2 separate regions of the Homo sapiens genome follow, and region 2 is linked to region 1. Evidence: promoter capture Hi-C in human tissues and cell types (Jung and others, 2019). All regions are on one chromosome and are shown on one strand. Each heading gives the region's core, a stretch centred on a gene start or on the middle of the fragment in contact. The rest is flanking DNA. Distances are from core to core; before and after follow the strand shown.

Region 1 (2,761 bases), core at 128-2,627:
TTTTCTAATGGCAAAAATGGAAAGAAAATAGAAGTAGAATGTTGTGGAATCTTAGATAAAGAATGGGCTCTTGGAGCCCAGTTTAGCAGGGTTTACTTCTCAGTTTTACTTTTCAATTGTGACCGTAAGCAAATTAACTTCTCTAGGCCTGGGATTCTGATCTGTAAAATTGCACTAATATGAGTCTCTTCACGGCTCCTCTAAGGATTAAATGAGAGACACATGCAAAGGATCCCCAAAAACAATAACTCAAAAAATGTTGATTCCCTCCCTTCCCTCTGTCATCTGTTAACCTCAACTTCCTAAATAGAAGGTCTATTCTTTTACCATCATCATTATTCTCTTCGGTGCCTATTTTTAAAAAATACTCAACCTTCTTGCTTCCTTCGCTACCTAAGTATTTCTGCAAGCCCACTTTGTTCTGCAGCTTAGCTTTCCTGGCACAATTCTTATAGATTTTGGTCCCTTTTAAAATTCATTCTTCAGCAAATGCTTTCTCTCTCCATCTTTTGACTAGAGATCATTAGAGATCACCTGAGATCATTAGAGAACAGTGGTTTCCTTGGTTGCCATTCCCTTTCTTCTTCATTGGGAGTATTCTGCGGTGAACTCAGACATTTTATTTTTCAAAGCTTCCCATTCTTTTAAAAATGCTTTTCCTTTTACAGCCTCTCGCTCAAAATCATACCCATCTTTTCCCTGGATCTGTTTTCTCAAGTCTCCAATCGCCTGCCTTCTTTGTGTCTTGTATTACCCTCACATCCCCCAGCTTTCTACTGCTCTCCCAGGACCAACCATTTCTTCCGCGGGAGTCACATTACATCAGCATTCCTAATGCAGTATCTGTTATCTACCAGATTCTGTTTTATTCTAGGTAGTCACTTAAAAACGAACCTCGGTACTGGTCTGACTTAACATGGAGGAGGAATTGTCTAAGGTTAAACGCAAACTGCTGAGAGATTTGGGGCGGGGGGCACACATTTACATTCATTCGTATTAAATATATACCTGTTGAATTTGTGCTTTTTCTCAAATGCTTCAGAGACTCGAGCTTTAGAGTAATTGGGATGGTGAAAGGATGGGTTTCCAGAAACTTCGCCCAAAATTAAAGACTCCATCAAAAGGACTGCTCCATACACTCAAGGAACACCCACCAACAAATCCCGTCTCCACAACCACCAGATTATCTCACCGGCGAGTGAGACTGCAAGGTTTGGGGGCCCGGCCGTACCACTCCGCGCTGCGCACGGGGGGTTCGTACCCATCTGGCCGCGACCGTCCGTTTCCCCCTCGCTTGGTTCTGCCCCTGCTCCCCCTGCACAGGCCTCACAGTGCGTCTGGCCGGCGCTTTATAGCTGCAGCCTGGGCGGCTCCGCTAGCTGTTTTTCGTCTTCCCTAGGCTATTTCTGCCGGGCGCTCCGCGAAGATGCAGCTCAAGCCGATGGAGATCAACCCCGAGGTGAGCGCCAGGTGCACCGCTACCCGGAGAGCGCGAGGCCGAGGGAGGGGGAGCCGAGTCGCTGATCGGTTCGGTTTTGCCTTTTTCTTTGCATTTGCCTTTCAGATGCTGAACAAAGTGAGTGGCGTCTCGCGCCGTCTCTGGCCCCCTCCCCCGCGAGCGCCGAGGCGGGGGCGCCCACCGGTTCCGGCTGCTGGCAGGGACCAAGCCGCCCGCTGCGAGCACCGGAGACGGCCGGGCTGGGGCGTGGGCTGGGCGCCTTTCCTGGGCCCCTGCATTTAGCGGGTGACTCTACGAAACCGGTCACGGGGAGACGGAGGGGGCTGCGCCCCGTGGCGAGCGAGCGCCAGGCGGAGCTCCCGAGGGCGTGGCGCGGGCAGCACAGACTCGGCTGCACGGGCTTCGCGGGCGCCACGTGTGGGCCGCGCTTTGTGCTGTGTCATTGCGCCGGCCCGGGTGGGGGTGGCAGGGCGGGACTGGGGCTCCTCCCAGGCTCGGGTGCGGGCGCGGAGGGCGCGCGCCTCCTGGCCCCGCCCCCTGGCAGGTGCCCGCGACCCGCGTGTCCCCGTGCGCCTGGCCGCCTTGTCTCCTCTCCGCAGGTGCTGTCCCGGCTGGGGGTCGCCGGCCAGTGGCGCTTCGTGGACGTGCTGGGGCTGGAAGAGGAGTCTCTGGGCTCGGTGCCAGCGCCTGCCTGCGCGCTGCTGCTGCTGTTTCCCCTCACGGCCCAGGTAGGGCGTGGGGCCCAGGATGCGCCGGCCGCCGGCAGTGCACGCCGCTCCCCAGCTTGAGTCCTCGGGGGCTCCCCGCCCCGCCCCCTCCCCTGTAGGTGATGCGGGGCGCGCCTACAAGGAAGGGAGGAGCCTGCATTTTCGTGGTACCTACTCCCTGGGCTCCTGTTCCAGCGGTGCCTGTCGCCTTCTTGCCCATCCGTCCACAATTGCCTTAAATTTGGAAGAGAGGCAGTATCTCAGTTCCATCTATCCCGTTATCCAGGGAAATCATTCATCCTACTCATGAGTTCCCTCGAACTTGGGCTTTTTCGAGCCTCCGGTTCCGGGGAATGGCTGCTGGTTTCCCTTTAAGGGCTATAACCTGTCAACTCATTGTTTGCTTCTCAGACTCCCACCTAGCTGTAGAATGGAGGGGGAAGGGCTGACCTAAATCGCAGGGAAACAATTAGGTTCGCTAATTCTCCGCCTCCATTACTTGGGTTTCTGATGGTCTTAAGGGGTTCTTCTCTCTTCTCCACTCCCACCACTTGCACACTTGGTTTTTAGCCTCTTGAATGTATTTCTTAAAGCT
Region 2 (2,761 bases), core at 153-2,652, 150 kb before region 1:
ACCTCCCGGGTTCAAGCAATTCTCCTGCCTCAGCCTCCCAAGTAGCTGGTACTACAGGGGCGTGCCACCACGCCCAGCTAATTTTTGGTTGTTTTGTTTTTTGTTTGTTTTTGAGATGGAGTCTCGCTCTGTCACCCAGGCTGGAGTGCAGTGGCGTGATCTTGGCTCACTGCAACCTCCGCCTCCTAGGTTCACGCCATTCTCCTGCCTCAGCCTCCCGAGTAGCCGGGATTACAGGCACCCACCACTACACTGGGCTAATTTTTTATATTTTTGGTAGAGATGGAGTTTCACCATGTTAGCCAGGATGGTCTTGATCTCCTGACCTCATGATCTGCCCGCCTCGGCCTCCCAAAATGCTGGGATTACAGCCGTGAGCCACTGCGCCTGGCCAAGAAAGCAATATGATTTTATAAAGGTGTTTATATCATTTTATCCCTATTTTACAGAAGAATCGGATGTTCCAACATGTGGAATAATTTGTCAAAGGTCACGGAGCTAAAAAATTAATGTTCAGACCCTTGTCTTCTGGTTCTACCCTAATATCAAGGTGCTTTGTATTATTTAGTTTTAAACACTGTCTCCTGTCCTTTAACCAAGCATAAGGTCCTTGAAGGATGAGACAAATTTTATCATCTTTGTGTTCTCTCCAGAACCTGGTAATACTCATAACTTATGATAACTGATTTATCCATCAAGACTCCACCCAGAGACCACCTTTCTTTCTAATTTACAGCCCCCATCCCTGCAGAAGCAACCACTCCCTCCTCCTTGGCCTCTGTATGTTTCCACTGCAGCACATGCAAGCCGGAATGCAAGGCCCGTGGCTGCCACACATGTGCCTGGCACGCAGGAGGCACTTAGTGTTTACTGAGTGAAATGATTACACATGGCACAGTCGTGTTTCTCAACAAGGTTGTCGTACCCTGTTAAAAAATTTGACCTCAGCCGGACACGGTGGCTCACGCTTATAATCCCAGCACTTTGGGAGACTGAGGAGGGTAGATCATGAGGTCAGGAGTTCGAGACCAGCCTGGCCAACACAGTGAAACCCCATCTCTACTAAAAATATAAAAGTCAGCTGTGTGTGGTGACGGGCACCTGTAATCCCAGCTACTCAGGAGGCTGAGGCAGGAGAATCACTTGAGCCCGGGAGGCAGAGGTTGCAGTGAGCCGAGATCGCACCACTGCACTCCAGCCTGGGCATCAGAGTTAAGACTCTGTCTCAAAAAAAAAAAAAAAAAGACCTCATTTTTATCCTTATCATGTACTGACAAAAATTATTTTAGGCAAGACTGACAGAAAATGGAGAAGAGAATATAGGTCTGAGCCCCTTTGCATCCCCTCTACTTTGTGTTCTCTCTACATGCTGCCCTGGGTATAGTATGTTCTAGAGCAGCGGTCCCCAACCTTTTTGGCACCAGGAACTGGTTTCGTGAAAGACAATTTTTCCCCAATAGGGTGAGGGGAGGTTGGAGGGGTTTAGGATAATTCAAATGCATGATGTTTATAGTGCACTTTATTTCTATTATTACATTGTAATATATAATGAAGTAACTATACAACTCACTGTAATGTAGAACCAGTGGGAACCCTGAGCTTGTTCTCCTGCAACTAGACATCCCATCTGGGGGTGATGGGAGACAGTACCAGATCATCAGGCATTAGATTCTCATAACGAGTGGGCAACCTAGATCCCTCGCATGCACAAGTCACAAAAGGGCTTGTGCTCCTATGAGAATCTAATGCTGCTGCTGATCTGACAGGAGGCGGAGCTCAGGCAGTAATGCAAGAGATAAGGAGCAGCTGGAAATATAGATTAAGCTTTCCTCACTCACCTGCCACTCACCTCCTGCTGTGCAGCCCTGTTCCTAACAGACCACAGAATGGTACCACTCCAAAACTTAGGGGTTGGGGACCCCATTTGCAGAAGAGTGCTTCCAAATTTTAATGTATATGTAATAGCAATCAATAAAAATTATGATTCAGTATGTCTGTGGTGGAGCCCAAGATTCTGCATTTCTAACAAGTTCCCAAGAGATAGCAATGCTGCTGATCCACAGAACATTCTTTGGAGTAGCAAAAAGTTCTAGACAGTTATAGTGAAACTATTCCCATTTAAAGAGTATATAACATGTAGATTGAAATGACTAGACATAATTTCACAGAATGTTAATGCTAGTTGTCTCTGGGTTTCTTCTTTCTGCTTTTCTGTAATTTCCATGTATTGTATAATGACTCTTGCTGATGGAAATAAAAATTTTAAATGCTCTCTCTATATATACATGCACAAAAAAAACTGCATATTTGGACATTTCCATTCTGCATAGCTCCATCTTTATTTAAGCAACAAATATACTTAAAAGGACTAGCCTTGGGATAGAACAGGTTGGTGAATTTAGCAATTCCCTATATTCTCATTTTAACATGCAAATTAACATGAAACAGCAATTACCCTTAACAAGCAGTCGCCATTACAAGTATTGTTTTTCTCAGGTCCTTTCCCTTAAAAGAAAGAGAAAGAATCCGTTCAGTTGGAATACAATAAAAGGCAAACCAAATTAAGGGCAGATAGAAAAAAACCAGCAGGCACTACACTGGAGCTCTTCCAAGTGGGTCAACAGAACCACAGGAAAGTTGAAACAGATGGAAATGCTTTTCTCACAGCAGAGGTGGGATGGGCTGAGTTCCACAGCAAGGTGAAATGAAATAAATTAAAGCATCATTCACTGTGCACCTGCAGGTGAGGTGGAAAAGAAAT

Evidence for each region. The method cuts DNA at HindIII sites, captures the fragments that hold promoters and counts their contacts. A contact is called where the count stands out against the background at its distance.
Region 2: a fragment that was not itself captured here is called in contact with the fragment with the promoter of UCHL1 in region 1 in 1 of the 25 tissues and cell types used here (pancreas).

What each region holds. Positions count from the first base shown.
Region 1 is chr4:41,255,551-41,258,311 of GRCh38, forward strand. It overlaps UCHL1 (ubiquitin C-terminal hydrolase L1), which reads left to right and starts at 1,378. Exons shown (of 9, transcript NM_004181.5): 1 at 1,378-1,459; 2 at 1,565-1,576; 3 at 2,059-2,187. The coding sequence starts at 1,427. It overlaps UCHL1-DT (UCHL1 divergent transcript), which reads right to left and starts at 1,177. Exons shown (of 3, transcript NR_102709.1): 1 at 1,009-1,177. RefSeq lists a silencer at 1,494-2,253 and an enhancer at 2,088-2,588. The HindIII fragment of the contact is 4,741 bases long and covers 1-2,761 here.
Region 2 is chr4:41,109,377-41,112,137 of GRCh38, forward strand. The region is part of intron 2 of APBB2 (amyloid beta precursor protein binding family B member 2); the gene reads right to left. Among named protein-coding and RNA genes, the nearest start is that of APBB2, 100 kb to the right of the region's middle. The HindIII fragment of the contact is 3,391 bases long and covers 1-2,761 here.